Linked DNA regions of Homo sapiens: region 1 is linked to region 2. The links are contacts of gene promoters, found by promoter capture Hi-C in blood cells and fetal thymus (Javierre and others, 2016). All regions are on one chromosome and are shown on one strand. Each heading gives the region's core, a stretch centred on a gene start or on the middle of the fragment in contact. The rest is flanking DNA. Distances are from core to core; before and after follow the strand shown. Region 1 holds the start of FBXO4 (F-box protein 4). Region 2 holds the start of RICTOR (RPTOR independent companion of MTOR complex 2).

Region 1 (7,294 bases), core at 4,627-7,126, 2.9 Mb before region 2:
CACTCAAGAGCCTGAGTAATCTTTCTAACATGCAACCTTGATCATCTCAATCCTCTACTTAAAATCCTCCAGCAGCTCCCAAATGCTTAAGCATGGTACATATGTGTCTTTTCACATAGCTCCACTCTTTCTAGATACACAGTGATACTTCAAATGTGTCCTCTACATCCAGAGCTTTGTGCTTTTAGAAATGTAGTTCTCCGCCGGGCGCGGTGGCTCACGCCTGTAATCCCAGCACTTTGGGAGACCCAGGTGGGCGGATCACGAGGTCATGAGATCGAGACCATCCTGGCTAACACAGTGAAACCCCGTCTCTACTAAAAATACCAAAAAAATTAGCCAGGCGTAGTGGTGGGCGCCTGTAGTCCCAGCTACTCGGGAGAATGGTGTGAACCCGGGAGGCGGAGCTGGCAGTGAGCCGAGATCGCGCCACTGCACTCCAGCCTGGGCAACTGAGTGAGACTCCATCTCAAAAAAAAAAAAAAAGAAAGAAAGAAAGAAAGAAAAAAATGTAGTTCTCGCTGCCTGGAACACCTTTACTGTCTTTTTGTGATGGCCTACAACTATTCACCCTAGTGACTCATATGAGACATCATCAATATGGAGCCTTCTTTGACCGTTACCTTTCTACCCAGGAACTAAATACATCATATTCTAGTTATCTGTACACTTGTCTATGTCCTCACCTACACCTATCTTGAAGGCAAACAGAGACATTGTTCTAAATCTGCATCCCTATCATCTCACTTATAGGGGCTGGCTCTCAATAAATAAGTAAAGCAAAGGCTAAATTTTATTATTACTTACATTTACTATTTATCCTGCCTTGCCAAATATTTATGCATTTTTTTTAATAGAAAGAGGGGAAGGTGATGATTTAAATCTTTTGAATTCCAATACATATCAAAATACTCTCCACACAGATGCTCAATTTTTTCTGCTTTTTCAAACATGATAAATATGATATCCCACTGTACAAATGCAACATCTTGACAACAAATAATTTATTTTCACATAATCTTAAAGGCTGGATTGTACAAATTTGAGGAATTAAGAGGAAGCTTTCTTATAGTAAGTAAATTAATTCTGTCAGTTCAGTGGAACCTGGTAGGGCTCCCAACAACCAAAGTACTGTACTTCATTATAGCAAATAATTAATTTAAAATGAATTTCTTTCTTTTTAACAAGAATGTCAAGCTCAAAGTGTTTGAATTAACTGTAGATTAACATGAAAATTACCATCAATCTGCCTCTGAGGCAAACCAGCTGTTGGGCAAAGTTCCTCTGAAGACATCAAGCTCAACACCAAAGAGGTATTCAATTCTTCCAAACCTGGTCCAAACATAGCAAATCGTGGTTCATTCTGAATGATCAGGGAGTGTAAAAAAGAAGTGACAGCTCCATACATAGGACGGCTGGATTTTGAAGCTCTTCTTGTGTATGGACAGCACATTCTATAGCTGTAAAAAATTGTCACAATTAGAACATTAACACAGAAAACAGCCAGTTATTCATTCAAAAATATATAATTTATTGAGTACTTGCTAGACACAATGGATACAATGATTATATAGTCCCAATCCTCCAGGAGAACAATAGACAGACACCTTTATAATATGTATGTGGAGTGCTCTGACAGGGAAAAGCACAAGGTGCCATGGGGGTGGGAGTGGCCCAGAAGCTAAGGAACTCTTCCCCCATGAAGTGGTTACTTACTTTCTAATCTTTAATTTAGATTCTCTCATGGAACATTTGAATGGTGAAATTTTACTACATAAAGGTTCTCAACCCTAGGAGGTTTATCCCTGCCCCCCTGGAACATTTGGCAATGTCTGAACAACAAGTTTATTGTCACAACTGGGGAGGGGAGAAGAAGTTAGCAGAGGCCAAGGATGCTGCTAAACATTAATCCTACAATGCATAGGGCAGGCCCCAGAACAAAGAATTATTTGGCTCAAAATGTCAATAGTGCCAAGATTGAGAAACTCAGCACTAAAGATAAGCTACACACAGATAGTTAGCACAATATCCCTACAGGTAAAAAACAAACAAACCAAAAAAATTGCTAACACTACCAATATAACCAAATTTCAAATGTCTTGGGTACTTCTATTAATAGCCTCAAATATAACAGTTTAGTAAGAGTTAAATGAGGGAGGCTCAAATGATCCTTGCAGCAAACCTAGCAAACTAAGAATGATGTAAAACAATTCCGTTTCTTGCAATAGCTATAAATCTCTAAAGTACCAATTATGCATTTTATCAAAAATTAAAAGTTGCCCAAATCAAAATAAAACCTAAAGTCCTTCAAATAAGTCAAGCTGGTTAACAAAATCACTAACCTAACAAAATCCTTTTATTAGAAACCTTGTAACTCATGAAGGGGAAAAAACAAACACAAAACAACTTTGAAGCTGGATAGACCTGACCAAGCCTCACTACTTTTAGTTATATGAGCCACTTACAGTCTGAATTTCAGTTTCTTCATCTGTATTATTTGAGCAACAGAAATAACTCAGGGTTGGCCGGGCGCAGTGGCTCACGCCTGTAATCCCAGCACTTTGGGAGGCCAAGGTGGGTGGATCACGAGGTCAGGAGATCAAGACCATCCTGGGTAACACGGTGAAACCCCGTCTCTACTAAAAATACAAAAAATTAGCCAGGCGTGGTGGCGGGTGCCTCTAGTCCCAGCTACTCGGGAGGATAAGGCAGGAGAATGGCGTGAACCCAGGAGGCGGAGCTTGCAGTGAGCCGAGATCGCTCCACTGCACTCCAGCCTGGGCGACAGAGCAAGACTCCGTCTCAAAAAAAAAAAAAAGAAAAGAAAGAAATAACTCAGGGTTGTAAAAATGATAAGTACTTTATATGACCATAAATGGTAGTTACTATTATTACTATTCCCTGGGCAAAATCTAATTCCACAGCCTCATATACACTTGATGCAATGGTTAGCTATTGTACAGGTATTGCCTAGCAAGTGAGATACAGCAGCACTTGCTGAGATTATCTATAACAGACAACACACCTTTGAATCAAATAGTCTCACAACACTTGACATAATGGCATCTGTATTAGAATAAGGAAAGGCTCTGAATAACTCAAAATTTGAAAAAAAAATTCTGTATTTTGCTACTGAGTCAAGCACAACAATTTTTAAAGAATAAATATTTTGAAATTTTTAAAATAATGCGTTAAATTTGAGTTTCTCAGAAAAACAAGCTATATCCAGATATATAATGTCATTATATATCTTTGAGGTAGCATAATGGGGTTCCAGTCTGAATAGTCCCTTACAAGCTATATGACTTTAGGCAAATCACATAACCTCCATGAACCTTAATTCCACATCTGGGATACAAAGATAACACCTTCTTGTTGCATGAGGATTAAATGAGTAAAACATACATAAAGCATCCCTCGTAGAATCCAGTACACTGCAGTTGCTCAGTAACATTAATTATCTCACCTACGCAATATTAAAAAATGTCAGTGCTTTTCGGTGCTAATATAATCTTATTTCTCAGAGCCTTTAGAATGGTTTTCTTCTTCCCTGCCAAACAACAGGGGTCTCTGATCATCCTTTTTCTGAATACGGAAAAGTATTTACTTATTTAACAAAATGACAATTGTTCTAAAGATCATGAGACTTTTAAGAAGTCTTTTACTTCTTGCCATCTATACTACTTATAATTATTCAAATACTGGTTAGGCACCACAGGGAAATAATAAAATATTAAAGCTGAAAGGGTCCTATGAAGGAAGTCATTTAACTCCCAGTTTTGACGAGAACAATTAGACCCCAAATCCACGCAACAAATCAGTAGCAGGGTCAGGATTAACTTGGATATTGACTAGTAATACAGGAAAATTTAATAGCTTCTTTTTAATTCATAAAACTAGATACTTACACTGCCATGTAGTCAAAAAATGCACCATCAGTGACCTCAGATATAGGCTTTTTTAAGATTTCTAGATCTGGAAGAGACTTCCAGTCAACAGAAGACCAAGAAGGAAGATCCCTCAACAAAAAGTATCTCCACAGAATTGGATCTCTTACAGTTTCATTCCAATAATGATTTGTACTTCCCAACTGACACAGATCATGAGGTGAAAGAAAGGACAAAATATATAGCTGTACATCAATCTGAAACAGAAGAAAGCAGCAGGTAGGAAAAAGGAATGAAGAAAATAGTTTTTGGGTGATAAACCACATAATCAACAAATAAATAACAAAAGGTCAACTGACTAGTATTTTTAATAACTAAATCTACCATTAATAATTAAATCTATTATTTTCCTGCTATCAGCAAAGGATCATAACTGAACATTTTAGTTTCGTAGTTGTTAAACATTTAATTTCTGAAACACCTGAAACATTCCTGAAAAAGCAACCACTGTCTTGCTATTTTTCCAGCAAAATCACCAGTTCCTTTAATTTTTCCTCAGAGATATTTGGATATACCAGTTAGTTACATAAATTAGTTAAGGAAATAATTTGTCCTTCAAAATAAAACCCATATCAACCTTTATCTGATTTTATCATCAGACCAAATCAAAGAGTGTACATTTGTCTTTTTCTTTTTTGAGACACAGTCTCGCTCTGTCGCCCAGGCTGGAGTGCAGTGGCAAGATCTCGGCTCACTGCAAGCTCCGTCTCCCAGGTTCACGCCATGCTCCTGCCTCAGCCTCCCAAGTAGCTGGGACTACAGGCGCCTGCCACCAAGCCCGGCTAATTTTTTATATTTTTAGTAGAGACGGGGTTTCACCGTGTTAGCCAGGATGGTCTTGATCTCCTGACCTCGTGATCCGCCCACCTGGGTCTCCCAAAGTGCTGGGATTACAGGCGTGAGCCACCGCGCCCGGCCGTAAATTTGTCATCTTAGTTCCTCTACAGAATCTATTAAAATGTTATGAAAAACCTCTGCAAGGAGAAACTTGGAGGCATTCTAAACCTGCAGCTTTCACGTTGATATACACATTGGAGAGAGGTGTCAATAGTCCAAATGAGACAAAGAATTGTAATAATTTTCAATAATTTTTGTTCTCTTCATTTACCTATCTACCCCAAAGTTTAACAATAAGTTATGTGTGTCATTCTCGTGGCCTTGATGTAACTTGAGGCACTTGTAACTTAAGTCATTTATTTTCAACTGAGGGGCCGTTTTGTTTCTTCAAATACACAATAACAGCCACAGGCACAATGTCCTCTTGAGAGGGTAAAAACCTTGGCCCTCCAAGTGTTTTGGTACAGTGATCCGGAATCAAAGACGCTGGGAACAGGGACGCTGGAATGCTTTCCCAAGCTAATCAGCAAGTTGGGAACTGTCTCATTTCCGTAACCGGACATTCAGGGTGTCCTAGTCACATGTGCCTGTTTTGGCGGGTGGAAAACCTGAGGGCGATCGGGAGGGTCCCCAGGGGCCCCATGAAGGTGCTTCCCTGAGATGTTCGGGCCCCCTGCGGAGCACCAGGGTCCACGCCAAGACGCTTCTGATCAACTGTAGCTTCTCGGTGACTACACTGCCAGGAATGGCTGCATGGACGGAGCCAGACCCAGGCCGGGGCGCGAGAGTTCCCCAGGCCCCGGGGGGCTCCAGGGGAGGTCCCTCCGGCCCGGGCCGGCCCCACTGTCCTCCGCGGCCTGCGGCCGACGCTCACCGGCAGCCGCGTCAGGGTGCTGGCCGCCTCATCCACCTCCTCCCGTGAGGTCGTACGCGCCACCCTCTCCTTGCTCACTGACTGCCAGAAGGTCTTCCAGCCGCTGAGGATGGCCGCCTCCAGGCGGCCCCAGTCGCTGAAGGGCGGCGGCGGCGAGTTTGTTCCGCTGCGCGGCTCGCTTCCCGCCATGGCTTGCCCGCAGCGTGGGTGACGCGTCTTAGAGCCACGCTAGCGCGTCAGCCTCCTGCGCAGCTCCGCGCCAGCCGAGGGCGCCCTCGGGCGTTCCGCCTCCCGCTTCTCCCGCGAGTCCGCCTCCAGGGCAGGGTTAGGCCCAGGGGCAAGGGCGGGTACTGGGAGGAAGCCCACTGTGCGTGGCTGTGAGCCGAGTACGAAGCTCCTGTCAACAATTAACTTCCCCAGTAACTTGTGGCCTCAACCTCAGCCACGCCAACCGCAGAGCCCCTGTACAACCTCTGGCCCGCTGACTTCCTGGCTTCATTCAAGATGTTCTCTCCGGGATCATTTCCACTATGCCTGGTCCTAGGCGACTCCGCTTGTTCGATAGACCTCTGCCACTGTCTTGGGCTTAATAACCACTTGCTTCCTTTTCAGCACTACCATACTACGTATGGGGTGTTTTTTGTGTGTGTTATTTCCTCAATCACCAAGTTACCATTTATTTTCTTGAGTATCAGCAAAAACAGACTAGAGAGGCAGTCAGCGGGCCAATTACAAAGAACCTTTTGCCAAAATGAGAAGTCTGGACCCACTATGCAAAAATATAAGCACATTTAAAATTTGCAAGGGCGGCAAAAAACGGCTAGAAGAACCCAGATGTGGTGGTGTTGAAATCCCACTAGTGAGTTTTTTAATTCTCAAACCAGATGCCCATTCTACTTACTTTGGGCTTACTTTAAAAGTGCTTTAAGAGAACGTATTACAAGTTAATCTGTTACATAGAACTGGGTATGTATACATTCAAAAAGTAAATCTCTGAGGATCTAAATGTCAACAGAATCCAAGAAAGCCTGATAACTAAGGTTCTGCAAGGCTCTGTAACATACAAGTTTAAGTTTCATTACATTTTATTATTTGCATGTTGTTGGTAGGGGCCAATAACCAATAAAATTGCAGCCTCGTTTTTGGGAGGCAATCTGGACAAGGACCACGGATTAACCATATGGCATTTCTCATCACTTTCTAGGACACGATTTACTTTGAGAGCAAAAAACGAACTAGAGCAAGAAAAAAAATCAGTTCAAGTATAAAGTATTAAAATGATATCTGTTAAATGAATGAGAAAAACTTTATTACGGAAAATTTTGAACATTTATAAAAGGAGAGTGAATAATATGCTCCTGTGTGCCCAGTATCCAAGATTCCATTACCAACACCTGGTTAATCTTGTGCTGTTGCTATACTCACCTAATACTACACCCCCAATTCTGGATCCTTTTGAAACAAATCCCAGACCTATCATCTGTAAATATCTCAGTATCCGTCCCTAAAAAAAACAGATTTTAAGAAACAGACCACTGTACCTAAGCAATTTTAATTCATTAAAATCACCAAATACCGAGTCAGTGTTTAACTTCCCCATCTGCTTTGAAAATAATTTTTCACATTTGATTTGTTT
Region 2 (6,934 bases), core at 1,759-4,258:
ACCGATAAAATATGGTTTACATACTAGAATTATTACTAGAATTCTAGTTATATACTAGAATTATTAACTGCATGCAGGAGGGTAGAGAATAGAACCAAGGGAGTGACTATGAATGGAGTAATTGTATCCTCAGAATTAAGCAGTTATCTTCCAAAGGTATGGTCCTGGACTCGATCTTCTTATAGAACATTTTTTATCAATGACTAATACTACCAGAAAAAAAAAAACAGTCACTGACACAGCAAATGAAACCTAGCTGGGAAACGAAAACTAAGAAGAGGAAGTCACATTCTCAATGACCAGATTAGAATCAAAATAAAAATTGGAGAAGTAGTAAGAAGTAAACAAAATGAGTAAGTCATATGGGTCGGCTAAAAGATGCAAGGAAGAAAAAGAAGTTTCAAAAGGAGGAATAGCTAGCAATTGGCAAGTATCAAAGAAGAAAATTTAGGGGTTTTAACAAGTATCAATCTGACTATAAACAATAAAGTAGTGCTACTGTTTAAAAAGCAAACACATTATAAAATGTATTCCTTACTAAAATTTATCTAAACTTCTGCTTCCTAGTTGAGTGTCACTTGCAAACACTAATAACTTGTTCCTTTTCACCAGACCTGCCATTCACTCTAAGAGCAAATATGGAGAACCTAACCACTCAAACGACTGAAATAGTAACAGAGAAAAAACTAGTTTCGATGAAAGATTGAATGTAATTTTTTCTCCTGCAAGAAATAGAGTAATTGAATAATTGTCTTTAATAGCATACAGTTATAATGATTAAAATACTACTGGATTTAGGCACTTATGTACCTCAAGTAACTTAAAAGTAGATTAGTTGTACTCAACTTTCATAAAACACCGAGAGAAAATGAAGTTAAATTGTATTAGGAAGGAGTTAATGTAGAATATAGAGGGATTTTATAATATGATAAAAGATTTGTTGAAAATCAGAACAACTGTAAGAATCTGGTATAATTTCTACTGATAGATCTCTACTTTTCTTTAAGGGTGAAATGTGGTGATACATGGAGGGTTGAAATCCAACCCTCTGCCAGACCTCAAGTTTTGTGATTTTTGTTTTAGGCAGTAACTAGAATAAATAAATTGCACCAAGATTTTTAAAGCTATAACGGAGGGAGCACGCTTGTTGACATTAAAACTACTACTGGTAATGCCAGAAGACATTTCTTTAAAGTACTGTAATTGTGTTACATCCTTAAATCTAAGTGCAGTATCAGCCGCAGATATCTGATTGTAGACTTGGTTTAAAAAAAAAAAAAGAACTGGAATATATAGATAATTGGCAATATTCTAAGGAAGCAGTGTTCCTATTTTATTTTCCAGATGATGCTACTTTATGTTCCTTTTATTTTTCTTCTTACCACTTATTTTACAAATGACATATATTAACTATAGGATATTTAAAAAGTAGAGACAAGCAAACAAGAACAAAAAAGTGCACGTGTAATTCCACAAATGAGGGGAGAAAATCAGCTAACATTTTCATGTATATTTTCAGACTTTTTTCAACATACATGTACATATAAAATATTTTATAATGTATATTTTTAATTTCGTACATATTTAAACTTTTATTATAAAACAGGAAATTTGTAATATTTTGCTTGATTTAATATCATGAACATTATTTCCTATTACTAAGTCTACCTCTTCACTTTTAATCGTTGACATAATTTACATAATCCCTACCTTTGGTCATTTAAGTGTTTCCAAATGTTCACTCTTATTAACAACTTCAACAAATATCCCCAATATTGCTTTTTTTTTCTTTTTTAAAGTAAGCAGAGAATTGGAATAAATTAGAAATCCAGGGCACTTACTCATCCAACAGATATTTATTGAATACTTATTTGTGCCAGATATTGCATTAACTGGGAGCTGGGAAAACAGAACTGGTTAAGGCTAGATCTCCACTTTTAATTAACTTTCAGTCTCATGGAATAGAAAGATGAGCTGAGGAACTGGAGAGGACAAATCGCTCCTCTCTTTAAAGTAAATGTAGTTCAAGAGAAAGCTGCTGGGTCAGTGGCCAGGTGTGTGTGTGTGTGTGTGTGTGTGTGTGTGTGTGTGTGTGTGTGTGTGTGTGTGTGTGTGTGTGTGTACACATACGTATTAACTAAGCAGTTTCTAGAATTAAAATCCCTAATGTTAATAGGCTTATGCATAAAATAGATTAATCCACAACACCTGCATGAGCCACGATCCTAGGAGCTGCAGAGCCATAAAAGCCGGACACAGTACCCAGCAGCCTCGCCTCGGCTCCCGGCAGAGAACACCCTCTCCCCGGCCTCCCGGCGCTGGCGCGATCCCACCGCGGGGACCGCCGCCCTGGTCCCCGGCCGCTGCACCCCCTTCTCGCGTCCTACGCCTGGCGGCCAAAAACAAAACTGCCTAACCACTTCCACTTGGAGAAGCCCTCCTAGCCGAGAGGGGCATTCTGAAGATCAAGGGCGAGGCTGGAAAACAAACTTTGTTACGTGTTAACTTAGTTGGAGCAAAGCGATTCCAGGAAAGGAGTCTAAAACTGTGCGCAGCGTTTTTATAAAAAAATGTTTCAGTGGATACACGGGGGAGCGGGGCCGTCTATGGCAGGGCTTCAGAGCAAGCAGGAGACTGGCAGGCCGGCGAGAGCAGGTGGCCCGCCGGCCGCATCCCGGCCTCCTCCTCCCCGCTCGCCTGCATTTGGACGACGGCTTCCGCGGCGGCCGGAGGGGAGCATCCTCTACACTGCCAACTCGCATCAATGGGACTTTCCTCGTGGGAACTGCCCCTCCCGGCGGACGTGCCCTCCGGGTCCGGCGTGGGCGGGCGGGTGCCGCGAACTCCTTGCAGACCTTGGGTCGGCTCAGTGCTCCCTCAGCGCTGGGGCCGAGCCTGCACCACCCGCCGCCGTCGCCGCCGAGGGGGCGGGGGAGGTGCCGCGGGGGGCGGGCGCGGCGCGCGGGGAGGGGAAGGGGTTCTCGCGCGATTGGGCGAGGTTTCCGGTGTTGTGACTGAAACCCGTCAATATGGCGGCGATCGGCCGCGGCCGCTCTCTGAAGAACCTCCGAGTACGAGGTAAGCCCGCTGCAACCCTCACTCCCCACCGCCCGGCGCCCGCCACCCCTGGCACTTGCCTTCCCCTGGCCCTGGGTTGGGGAGCGAGCCGGGGCGCTGGCCGGAGCCAGGGCAGCCGCAGCTGGCCTGCGAGCCAATCCTAATTGGGGCTGTGTGTCTGTTTCGCGCAGGGCGGAATGACAGCGGCGAGGAGAACGTCCCGCTGGATCTGACCCGAGGTAACGCGGGGCGCCGCGGGCGCCGCGAGGGCGCGCTGCTGGGGAGGAGCCGGGTCCGGGGCTGGGGGCCAGAGGCAGGGGCGGGCCCCGCACGGGACCGGCGGGGTGCGGGGGCCAGAGCCGGAGCCCCGCCTGCCGGCCCGCGGGAACCGAGCCCGGGGCCGCCTCGCCGGACCCATCCCCCTACCCAGCGCCCGCTTCCCTCGCCCGAGCCCTTCTCCGGGCCTCGGGCTGCTGCGGGTGCGGGGGAGCCCCGAGTGGAACTCGGCAGACCCGGCGACCCTCTGGGCTCGAGCTCCGGCAGAGTGGTTTGCACCTATCCCGGAGTCCGGCAGCCCAAGCTAGGGGCAGCTGGAGGGAGGTAGAGGCTGTTATTTAGGTTGCAGGAGGATGTTTGAGGGAAGAGCGACCACATCCTGCCCTCCCCGTCCCCGGAGCAGAAGCCGGACCTGCTCGGTGCTTGCCGACTGCGTGACTGCTTTCCCCTTTGCCCACCGTCCTGTGGGGACCCGCAGCATTGATAACTTGGTAGTGAAACCTAGAACTGGTCATTACTGCTAAATGTCTGGTTTATGCTGTTTCCCTTCTGCTTCCCTTTCCCGGGCCGCTGGGACTGTAGTTGGCTAAAGACCGCCCCCTCACCCTGCTGCAGGTTCATTGTTTACCTTCTGCAGTGGAGATGGGTTTGTTTACACCTTCCGAACTGGGGAAACTCGGGTGATATTTTTAATGACCTAATCCCGTTACTAGCCAGTGTTTCCTCTATCACTTACAGTACTAGAGTTTATTCGACATTATCTCGTTGAAGATTTAGTAGTTACGTACAAGATTCTTTTCTCTTCCACGGTAAACAGGATTGAGCCTACTGATTCCGACGAAGTCATATTTCACACGGGCTGTAGCTTGGAGTGTAACCCGGTTCAGCTGTACAGAATCAGTTTCTGAGGTCTATAAAACACCTTAGGAAGTAAACAAAAAAACTTGTTGTAGACATTCTGTATGAGATCAGTTTTTTACCCTATGTCGTACCTGACGTAATGACTGTTATCTACAGTAATTTGTTAAAGCTGGGCTCCTTGTTGACAACGGCTAGAGTGAAAGCATAGTGCATTTTCTAATTTGTTTTATTTTGCTTATCACGATGTAAGATTACTGTTTTATAAACTGAATGGTCAGCTTTCACTTAGCTACAAGAGTACATTTTTATAACTTAATATTTTATTCTGAAAGTTCAGGGACTTAGTTTTGGGTGAACTAGGTCCTTTTACAAGACAGTTTCTAAAATATAATACAATATAGTAGAGCTTAAATCCTGAAAATGGCTACTAATTAGATTATCAATGCACTAATTTCCACCATTTTTTTCAGCAGATCGGTTTTGAGAATTAGTATAGAAAGATGTAAAGCTTTTGACTTCTGTGCAACTGTTTGGAAACTTGACTATAACACACATGTGAAAAATCTATATAAAATAGATTCACTAGAAAACTTCCTAACAAGGATAACTTCTACAATTTCAGGTCTGTAAAAGATGTAATTAGTGAGTGATTTAATTTATATACAGGCATATGTGTTTTAGATGAAGGTGAAGGGAGCCCTTAATAAACTTGAGTTTAACTTGTGCATTAAAAACCTGCTCAGATGTGGTGCTGGAAATATATAGTTGTATTTTAAATTGAGTTCGTCGAGCTCCTATATATAGTGGTTTCTCTGCTTGGTGTCAAAAATGTTGAGTTGTGGAAGAGCTTAGGTACACATCTGATTTGATAATTTTGGCTTACTCCAGTTTTACTGAGGCACACAGGTAACTGTTTACTATTTAAAATGCCATATTAACTGAGAATTTAGTAAGCACCTATGTCCATAGGTATTTCCAGGTTAATATAGATAGTGCAGAAAATGCTGTTTTCGGCTTGCCCTGACAAAATGTACTTCAGTTTGGAATAAAGTATACACAGCCATTTAAAACTGATTGCAAAAATAAAGAGTGAGGGATTGTTTGAGATCTGTATTTCTAAATCATAAGGAAGTTTGGAATTAATCTGAATCAGTCATTTTATAGTGATACTATTGTTTTAAAAAGTTGCTGTTGTGACAGACATTTCATTGTTCAAAGAAGGCTTGAAGAAAATTCATGAGGAATTAAAGTTTAGTAATAATTTGAGAACTGTGAGGCAGTTTGGGTTGCAGCTGAAGGGCAGCTGTTTGTGGATTAGATTACAGTATGTAAAAAGATAAAGTTTGGGCAACCAAAAATTTTTTTGTTTAATGCCAAGGCAGTGTTTGCTTTTATTCTTATTTTTTAAATTTAATCTTTGAGAGATTCATTGTGTAGTTACCTAATAAAGCTCATTATAAAATAGAGGACATGGTCATTGTAATCCCTAAAGGATCCATCAATGTGTAGTGAAAAGAGAGTTGACTATAAAGTCAAATCATTCTGGATTGTAACCTCAGCTGTGAGATTTAATAGTTGGGTGATTTGGGGCAAGTTATTTGACCTTGCTTTACCCCTGATTTCTTCATTTCTAAAATAAGAGATAACTTCAAAGGGTTAAGAATGTGAAAAGTAAATGAGCTAGTTCTTAATTAAAGTACTTGGCATAAGACCGGATACTTTGTAAGTGATATTTAACATTAGTTGCCTTCCTACATTGTGAAATCACAGTTTTAAAACTCACATTAAAAATACTTTAAACGGTTGTTTTGAATATTATAAACTTGTTAATAAGGAATTATGGTATTCGAGCTTCTTTTTTTTTTGAAACATACTGTTATACTAATTGGGTATAGTCTATCTGAGTTAGAGTTCTTGAATATAACAATTGTAAAGCAATCTGTGACATTACCAATAAATTAAGTCTAAGCGAAGTGCAGTATGTTATATTCACTTAGGATAAAATGTGATACTGTATTTCATAGAACCTTAGAATTTTTGTCTCTGACACCAGGACATTTCATACTATTTAATAATGACTTGGCTAGCCTTGCAAGCTTCTTGAGGCTCAGAAGAATTCTAAGTTTCGTTGGTTTTGGTACTTGTGTTAGTGCTGTGGTTCATACATAGAGTGCCTCAGTTAAAAATTGTTGATGGATTAATTTTTATCTAGTTTAGGAACTTCATTATAGTAGACTTTACAGTCAGCGTATTGGTAATGGTTGCTCTGAGTTTTGTTCAGACAACTACTTAATTTGTGAAAGTCCCCAATATTTGCTAATGATATTATTAAATACTGTCTGTAATGCATGCCAAAATGTATTTTGAAGCCCAAATGCTTCCTCTCGCCATTTGTACTGCAAGGATAGACTGTCTTATCAGTCCAGTAGTGCATCTCTTTACTGGTACTGAATCACTTGAAAAGATACAGTGTTCTTCCTGGGTAAACCCCTCCTGGTATACTTTAATTATTGTGTTCAAAGTGAATTCCCAGAATATGGACACACTAGTTCAAATATAATTATTAGAATATAATTTATTTAAAAGTATAGTTGAATTTTATAATTTTTGATTAACTCCTTTACGTTTCCACTAAGAACTAAAAAACTGACTCTCTTGGTTGCTGTCTAATACCTAGAAAAGCAGAAAGGTTCCAAAATGATGTAGATTTGAACTCTAACTTTTTTTTTTTTTATTTGAG

Evidence for each region. Contacts are between HindIII fragments. The CHiCAGO score rates a contact against its expected background, and 5 or more counts as called.
Region 1: the fragment with the promoter of FBXO4 here is called in contact with the fragment with the promoter of RICTOR in region 2 in 1 of 17 cell types (total B cells); the score reaches 5.5 in total B cells.

The regions. Positions count from the first base shown.
Region 1 is chr5:41,923,863-41,931,156 of GRCh38, reverse strand. FBXO4 (F-box protein 4) reads right to left here and starts at 5,876. Exons shown (of 7, transcript NM_012176.3): 1 at 5,659-5,876; 2 at 3,909-4,144; 3 at 1,240-1,460. The coding sequence starts at 5,847. RefSeq lists silencers at 1,716-2,010, 5,439-5,618. The HindIII fragment of the contact is 6,278 bases long and covers 1,064-7,294 here.
Region 2 is chr5:39,070,473-39,077,406 of GRCh38, reverse strand. RICTOR (RPTOR independent companion of MTOR complex 2) reads left to right here and starts at 3,008. Exons shown (of 38, transcript NM_152756.5): 1 at 3,008-3,078; 2 at 3,249-3,296. The coding sequence starts at 3,030. RefSeq lists enhancers at 160-259, 2,596-3,122, 3,649-4,175 and a silencer at 2,811-3,710. The HindIII fragment of the contact is 5,742 bases long and covers 1-4,704 here.